3 separate regions of the Homo sapiens genome follow, and all the other regions are linked to region 1. The links are contacts of gene promoters, found by promoter capture Hi-C in blood cells and fetal thymus (Javierre and others, 2016). All regions are on one chromosome and are shown on one strand. Each heading gives the region's core, a stretch centred on a gene start or on the middle of the fragment in contact. The rest is flanking DNA. Distances are from core to core; before and after follow the strand shown. Region 1 holds the start of DGKD (diacylglycerol kinase delta). Region 2 overlaps GIGYF2 (GRB10 interacting GYF protein 2). Region 3 overlaps INPP5D (inositol polyphosphate-5-phosphatase D).

Evidence for each region. The method cuts DNA at HindIII sites, captures the fragments that hold promoters and counts their contacts. A CHiCAGO score of 5 or more calls a contact.
Region 2: a fragment that was not itself captured here is called in contact with the fragment with the promoter of DGKD in region 1 in 1 of 17 cell types (monocytes); the score reaches 5.0 in monocytes.
Region 3: a fragment that was not itself captured here is called in contact with the fragment with the promoter of DGKD in region 1 in 1 of 17 cell types (neutrophils); the score reaches 5.4 in neutrophils.

Annotation. Positions count from the first base shown.
Region 1 is chr2:233,353,167-233,355,787 of GRCh38, forward strand. DGKD (diacylglycerol kinase delta) reads left to right here and starts at 1,328. Exons shown (of 30, transcript NM_152879.3): 1 at 1,328-1,508. The coding sequence starts at 1,353. RefSeq lists enhancers at 778-837, 978-1,027 and a silencer at 1,278-1,517. The HindIII fragment of the contact is 8,442 bases long and covers 1-2,621 here.
Region 2 is chr2:232,850,153-232,852,773 of GRCh38, forward strand. It overlaps GIGYF2 (GRB10 interacting GYF protein 2), which reads left to right. Exons shown (of 29, transcript NM_001103146.3): 28 at 110-257. Among named protein-coding and RNA genes, the nearest start is that of SNORC, 19 kb to the right of the region's middle. The HindIII fragment of the contact is 2,651 bases long and covers 1-2,621 here.
Region 3 is chr2:233,084,379-233,086,999 of GRCh38, forward strand. All of the region lies in intron 2 of INPP5D (inositol polyphosphate-5-phosphatase D), which reads left to right. Among named protein-coding and RNA genes, the nearest start is that of INPP5D, 25 kb to the left of the region's middle. RefSeq lists a silencer at 161-455 and an enhancer at 446-495. The HindIII fragment of the contact is 5,674 bases long and covers 1-2,621 here.

The DNA.
Region 1 (2,621 bases), core at 78-2,577:
GCTAGTGGCTATAGTACCCTGGGGCACCATGGGGCCTTCGGCCTGTCCCGGACTGTTCCTGCCTTAGGCCTTGTCCTCCTCTGTCCTGGCCGTGAGCCCATGCCCCTGGCCGTGTCCCCATGCCAGATGCCACTCTGCAGCCCCAGGTCACTGCCCAGGGCGGCGCGGCCAGCGAATGCCTATTGGCAGGCGAGGTCTCTAGCGGCAGCCCTTTGACAGGGAGAGGGCACACCTGGGCAGTCCCTTACTGATTTGCCCCTCAGAGCAGGGCAGACAGATGGACAGCATTTCCTCTGGGTGGCACCAAGCCCTGCTCCACCTGGATGGCACCAAAAACTTAGCTGATCTCATCTCCAGCTTCGCTTCCTCCTCTTCTGCCCAGAGCAGCGCTGGACCCCACCCGCCCACCATCCAGCAGCCCCCCTGGGAAACATGGGACTCGTTCTGGTCACCTCTGTCTCCCTCCAGTCGCTGGTCACTCCCCACCTGGATCTCAGTCCACGTCTCTATCTCTCAGCCCCTCGGTAATCCAGGGCGTCCACCTGCCCTGATAACTTCAAAGCCCGGATCACAGGCCCCAGCGTGGTGACCCAGCCCCGCCCAGGGTTAAATCCCTCAAGGGCTTCCTGCTGCCTTCCATCCCCTTATCTGGTTTCCAAAGCCCGCTTCGACCTGCCCGCCCCGAGGCTCATATCTTAATGCCATTTTCCTTGCTCTAAGCACCAGCTTCCCTTTCTTCCCCCGTCTTCGCCCAACACTCGTTCTTTCTTGCCTCCAGGCCTTTGCACAAATCTGGTCTCTGCCTAGAACATGGTTCCCTCTCTAGTCACAACTCCTGCTCACATTTTCCATCTCTCCTTAAGAACCGTTTTCTCCAGGAAGCCTTCCCAGATGGAGCGGTGCATCCCAGCTCTGGCGTCCCGAGGCCCGTCCCAGTACCGGGGTCTCTTTCCAGCACGCGCGCGCGCATTCGAGCTCGCCCCAAACTCGGCCACACAAGGCTGGGCAGGACAGACACAGCCCCAGCCTGCCTGAGGTTACCTACATTCTGATGCGGAAGAGTAGAGATGTTTTAAGAAGTGAATATAGAAACAAGAACACAAACGGCGTTCCAGAAATAACACACAGAAGCCACGGCCCGGAGAGGTGGGCGGGGGGCCCGGGACGCTTCAGGTGGGGGCGGGGAGGGGCCGCGCGGCGCCGTCTGCAGCTGCGCGCATGGCCGGCAGGGGGCGCGGCGGGGAGAGGCGGGAGGCCGCCCCCACCGCCCCCGGCCCGGCCCGCCCTCGGCCCCGCCCCTCCCGCCGGCCCCGCCCCGCCCCCGCCCGCGGTGCGCGCGCTGGCCCGGCAGCATGGCGGCGGCGGCGGGCGCCCCTCCGCCGGGTCCCCCGCAACCGCCTCCGCCGCCGCCGCCCGAGGAGTCGTCCGACAGCGAGCCCGAGGCGGAGCCCGGCTCCCCACAGAAGCTCATCCGCAAGGTGTCCACGTCGGGTCAGATCCGACAGAAGGTGAGCCCGCGGCGCGGCGGCCCGGGCGCGCGCCCCTCACGCCGCGGCAGCCCCGGCCGAGGCCCGTGGCCCTGCCCGAGCGGCCGCCCAGGCCCGGCTCGGCCCGGCCCGGGGTCCCGCGGGCGTCACCGCCCCTGTCGAGCGTGCCCCGCCGCTGTAACGGGCCGGCGCCCCGGGCGGAGCGCGCGGCCCCCGACGGACGGCGGGCGGCTGTGGGGCCGGGCGGGGGGCGCGCAGGTGGGCGCCCCGGGCGCCGCGCGCTGGGCGGGGGGCGCGCGCCGAGTTGGGCCGCGAGGACCCGGAGGAAACTGAGGCCTAGATGCAGGGGACTGCGCTCGTGCCACCGAGCGGGTCCCACGCGGGGGCTCCCGGCTGCGCCCCGCGGGCGTCCGCGGTCCCCAAACCCCGGTTCTGCACGTTTCTCAGGAGCGGTCGGGTGGTGTCCCGCGAGTGCCCTGCAGACTTCCCTGTGGTGCCCTCAGAAGTCCGCTCGGACCCGGGTGCGAGGGATCACCCCTTCACCCCTTCATCCCAAAAGGGAAGGAAGGGATGCGCGTTCAGTGACCGTCTCTCTCAGCAAAGCCGGGACCGCGCACCCGCTTGGCACCCAACTCTCCACGGAGAACTCCTGACGCTAAATGTTAGATAAAGACGCACGTCCTTTTTGCAGGAGGAAAGTTGCACCGTTTGTTTTCCCATTGTGCTTCCTATTGAAAACAGCTTACGGTTTTTGCTCCAGGTGAGCCCGCCCGGTTAGAACACTGCTTCCTCAGGCAGGTGGCTGGACAGGTGGCTGCGAGCAGGCTGGGTCCCTGGGGCAGCTCTGGCAGATCCGGTTGGCACGGACTTTCTCCTCCTGCTGCAGTGCGCTTTTCCTCCGGGGCGGATTAGGTTCAGCCGTTCCCTTCACCGTGGGAGCCTTCTCTTCTGTCAGCCTTTGATACCTGCGATGGGGGAACCTGAGGTCCTAACATGTTACAAACAGGTTTGTTGTGAAGTGCTCCAGTTATTCAGCAAATAGGTACCGAACACCTGCTTTGTTCCGGGTATAACAGTAGCAGTAGTGATGATAATGATAGCAATAGCAAATAACAATTCTTTAATAAGCCTTCT
Region 2 (2,621 bases), core at 63-2,562, 500 kb before region 1:
TCTGCTTTTAAGCTCATTCTTGATAAGGTGAGGACAAACCAAACATTTTCCTAGGGTGAGCCAAGTCTGAATCTGCTGTGTAATCTCAGTCATGCTGCTTATTTCACAGGACTCTGTGTGGGGGATGAACCACAGTACACTCCATTCAGTATTTCAGACCAATCAAAGCAACAACCAACAATCCAATTTTGAGGCTGTGCAGAGTGGCAAGAAGAAGAAAAAGCAGAAGATGGTCCGAGCAGATCCCAGTTTATTAGGTGAGCACGGTCCTAGTCTCAGCTGAGTGTTGGAGGAGTGCAGGTGATACCAGTTATCCTGTGTGAGTTTCCATTGAGCATTGTTTTTCAAGAAGGGAAATATTTCTTTTTATCAATAACTAATGTTTTAACTGGTTCAAAATAAGTAGCCAGTATTTACTGGGCGTCTCAGTGCAGGACCTGTGCCTCATGTAATAACAACTTATATTGTATGGTGCTTTAAAGTATTGTTTGGTGCTTTAAAGTATTGTTTGATATTTAATATGAATTTCCCTGGAGGATCCTGAGTAATTTAGTTGGAAAATGATGCTAATAATGAACGATACTAAAAGTATGTTAAAAACTTAAATGCTTATTTGTATTGAAAGCAGACCATTAATCCGATCAGGTGTTCCAAGAAGAGAACCAGTATATGTTCATAATCACTCTATGTATCATATAATTCTCAGAATTACTTTGCATTATGAGGTGACATACCAGTTTCACCAATAATGAGTAGACCAAGGCACAGAGATTGAGAACATTTCCCAGTGTTACATAGCTTTCTGCTATGGGATGCTGGGATTTCAAGGCAGGCCTGTTTTCTTTCCACCCTTCTGTGTTACCCACGGCTATTTTTATCTAGCATTATGGACCATGCAAGGCAGGCTGGGCACGGTGGCTCACTTTGGGAAGCTGAGGTAGGTGGGTCACTTGAGGCCAGGAGTTTGAGACCAGCTGGGGTAACGTAGCGAGACCATATCTCTAAAAAAAATTTTAAAAACAGGCATGGTGGTGCCCACCTATAGTCCCAGCTACTTGGGAGAATGAGGCAGGGGGATTCCTTGACCAGGAGTTGAAGGCTGCAGTGAGCTGTGATCATGCCACTGCACTCTAGCTTCTCTGAAAAGGTGACATCTGAATTTGGGCTTTGAAAGAATGGCAGAAAGGATGGGGAATATTGTTTCAGGAATAACAAACAGTATAGGCTGCCCATGTTTTTTGCAACAGTGATGAAACTAACATTTTTTTTTTCTTTTTCTTTTTCTTTGAGATGGAGTCTCACTCTTGCTCAGGCTGGAGTGCAGTGGCGTGATCTCAGCTCACTGCAACCTCTGCCTCCCGGGTTCAAGCGATTCTCTTGCCTCAGCCTCCTGAGTAGCTGAGACTACAGGCACATGCCGCCACACCTGGCTAATTTTTGTATTTTTAGTAGAGAGGGGTTTTTGCCATGTTGGCCAGGCTGGTCTTGAACTCCTGACTTCAGGTGATCTTCTTGCCTTGGCCTCCCAAAGTGCTGGGATTACAGGTGTGAACCGCCACGCCCGGCCCTAAAATTATTTTCTATTTGTGAATGTAAAATTAGTGGCTATAAAACCATGTTGTCTGCAATAGAATACATTCGCAAGGATGGAAGTTCCGGTTGTTGTCCTGTCAGGAGGGCAGAACAGTGAGGAGGCTGCAGTATAGACTAGGTAAAAGATACCAGTGACTTGGAATAGGGTTTTGGTAGTGGGGATGAAAAGGAGTTAGATGGATTTCAGAAATGTAGGGGATAGAATTAACTGGACAAGAAGAGTGGAAAGGTCTCAGGCTTGGGGACCAGGATGGATGGATGGTGTTGCCATTTGCTGTGAAATGATAAGCAGTGGAACATGGCACAGGCTGAGGGGAATTGAGTGTTGACTGGGTTGAGTTTGAAATGTCTGTGGGACATCATGAAGAGCGTGAGACCCCGCACAGTGAGAGGCAGGTGGTAACCTTACTGTACCCTTGGTAGGATTCTCTCTTTCCCTCAGAGCCTTCCAGCCCTGGTGAAAACAACATGACAGTAAAACCTAACTTTTAGGACTGTCCTTTAGAATTGGTGCCTGAAGCCAGACGCGGTGACTCACGCCTGTAATCCCAGATCTTTGGGAGGCTGAGGCGGGTGGATCGCTTGAGGTCAGGAGTTGGAGACCAGCCTGGCCAACATGGTGAAACCTCGTCTCTAGTAAAAATACAAAATTAGCTGGGCGTGGTGGTGGGTGCCTATAATCCCAGCTACTCGGGAAGCTGAGGCAGGAGAATCACTTGAGCAGCCTAGGAGGCGGAGGTTGCAGTGAGCTGAGATCACGCCACTGCACTCCAGCCTGTGCGACAGAGTGAGACTCCGTCTCAAAAAAATAATAATTTAAAATAATAATGTTTAAAATATTATTTAAAAATAATAATAACAAAGAATTGGTGCCTGAAAGCTGGGTTTGGGAACTTGTAGATCTGGTGCAATTCTGTTTTCCTCTGCTTGTCTCAAAAGTTGATAAGGATGGATGGAGCAGCCTGAAATTTTTTCCAATTTGGATGAAATTGGTGAATAGATTTTAAAACATTCCTTAAATTCTAACT
Region 3 (2,621 bases), core at 77-2,576, 270 kb before region 1:
TTAGATGAAGAGTTAGAAAATATCTATCTCATAGACCCTTTCATTATTCTTTCCCGATTTGGAAGAAAAAATCCAGTGGTCTGAGCCATTCCGGTGAGTTCTAAAGAAGAGACACTTGTGACTCAAGTCCCTGGTCCCTGACGGTGGCTGTCACGTATCTCCGGGCGACATGGCTTTTGGAGAGGGAAAACAAAACAACTTTCTAAAAGCTGTTCCGTCACAAGCATCCGGGAGGTGAACGGTTGAGCCATTGTTATTAAGCTCAGGAAGCGAGTGGCAGCTGTTATTGTTCTGAGTGGTCACTGAGTGAAGTAAAGATTCCGTCTGAGCCGCCGGGCAAAGGATGTGGCTCTAACACACTTCCTGAAGTTGCACAACAAGGGGCACAGAAAAGGTTCAGGGCATAGAAGCCTAGCACGGCCAGGGCTGCCCTGTGTGGGCTCCACAGCCATGCCAAGGACAATGGGCCCCAAGGGGGTCCGTGCTGGTGGAGGGGTTCCTTTATGCTCTGACACTCACCTTCTAGAAGCCTGCATTTTGAATTGGTTTTTCTGTCTACTGCAGAATATGGACAGATCTATTTTCCAAGCCTCTGAATATCTCAAAACATCTTTAGTTGTCTACACATTCAAGAGTAATTTGATAGATATAAAATTCTTGGAACCAACTGTTCGCTCAAAATCCTGTAAAAGGTACAGCACTACCTTCAAGAATGTAGTGTTACAGGCTGGGTGCAGTGGCTCACTCCTGTAATCCCAGCACTTTGGGAGGCTGAGGCAGGTGGATCACCTGAGGTCAGGAGTTTGGGACTAGCCTGGGCAACATGGTGAAACCCCGTCTCTACTAAAAATGCAAAACTTAGTCGGGTGTGGTGGTGCATGCCCGTAGTCACAGCTACTCCGGAGGCTGAGGTGGGAGGATCGCTTGAACCTGAGAGGCAGAGGCTGCAGCGAGCTGAGGTCTCACCACTGCACTCCAGCTGGGTGACAGAGCAAGACTGTCTCAAAGAAAAAAAAAAAAAAGAATGTAGCGTTATGAATAGTTCCGAGTACAAAATCCAAGGCCAAACTTGTGCTGGTTCCTATAGAGGCGACCCATTTTTTTCTTTTTTTCTACTTTGAAGCCGGTGGGAATTCTTTTCCAGTGTTGTCATTTTCCTTTCATTGATAGTACCTGCAATGTGTTCGGCTTGTTCACTTTGCAAACTCTGTTCTTTGACACAAAAGACCTTTCTTCTGTTAGGTCTTTGAGTAAGTTTTTATTCCAGCTCTTCTGGCATCTTTCTTCTAATCCCCTGAGAAAGCCAAGCCTCCCCCCGTTTTCTAGCCCCCTGGGGTACACATGCCTTTGTGACTGAGCAGCCCCTCCCTCTTGTGTGGCTGCAAGATCCCTAATCCCTTCCCCAGTCTGTCAGAGAATTCTGGAAAGAGTATCCATGCCATTTGTCATCTCTACCTCCAAATGACTGTCTTTATTTTCTCCCCATCCCCACTAGCCATTTTGTCCTTGTTTCTCCATGTTCCAGAGCCTTCTGGTTCACCTTGCCCCAGATCATGGGCCTGTTTCCTGTCTTTGTTACCCAAAGCGGTCTAGAACTAACATCAACATGCACCATGTAGCCGATAAGTTTAGACTGGGGAATGGGATGCAAGTGTAACCAATGAGATGTGAAGAGAAGGGCTTTGTGGGCTTCTAGTAAAGGTCTGTTTGTCTTAAAAACAGACATAGGGATAAGATAGCCTCTTTCTTTCTTTCTTTCTTTCTTTCTTTCTTTCTTTCTTTCTTTCTTTCTTTCTTTCTTTCTTTCTTTCCTTTTTGAGACAGAGTTTCGCTCTTGTTGCCCAGGGTGGAGGGCAATGGCATGATCTCGGCTCACCACAACCTCCGCCTCCTGGGTTCAAGTGATTCTCCTGCCTCAGCCTCCCAAGTAGCTGGGATTACAGGCACCTGCCACCATGCCGGGCTAATTTTTGTATTTTTAGAAGAGATGGGACTTCACTATGTTGGTCAGGCTGGTCTCGAACTCCTGACCTCAGGTAATCTGCTCGCCTTGGCCTCCCAAAGTGCTGGGATTACAGGTGTGAGCCACCGCACCCAGCCAAGATAGCCTCTTTCCTACCTTTGGAAGCTGCCATAGGATGTGATAGCTGGGTCTCTGCTGCTGCCTTGTAACCATGAGGAGAGGTAGCTGGCGAGTGAGGCCAACACACGGAAAGGAGAAGTGAACCTGGGTCCTGGATGATGCCCTTGAATTTGCTGAACAGAATGAAGCAACCTGGGATCTGCCCTCCTCTAGATTTTCTGTTTTGTGAGTTAATTAATTTCTTTTTGCTCAAGTTAGTTGAGTTAGGGTTTTCTAACAGCTAAAAGTGTCCTAACTTACAAAGGTTTAAACTATCCCAGGGGAATTTCAAAGCAGAAAAGTGAAAATTTCAAATTGAATATCGAGTTTCACTGCACCAAATGCCCATGAGCCACGGTCTGACAACACAGTCTCTGGGTCTTCCTTCTCCTTAGCCTGTGTCGTGTTTCTGGGACCTGCTCCAGCCCTGTCCCAGACATTCCTAATGACTTATGTTCCTGTCAGACATCCTTGGGCTCAACATCTCTTTCTCTAACCC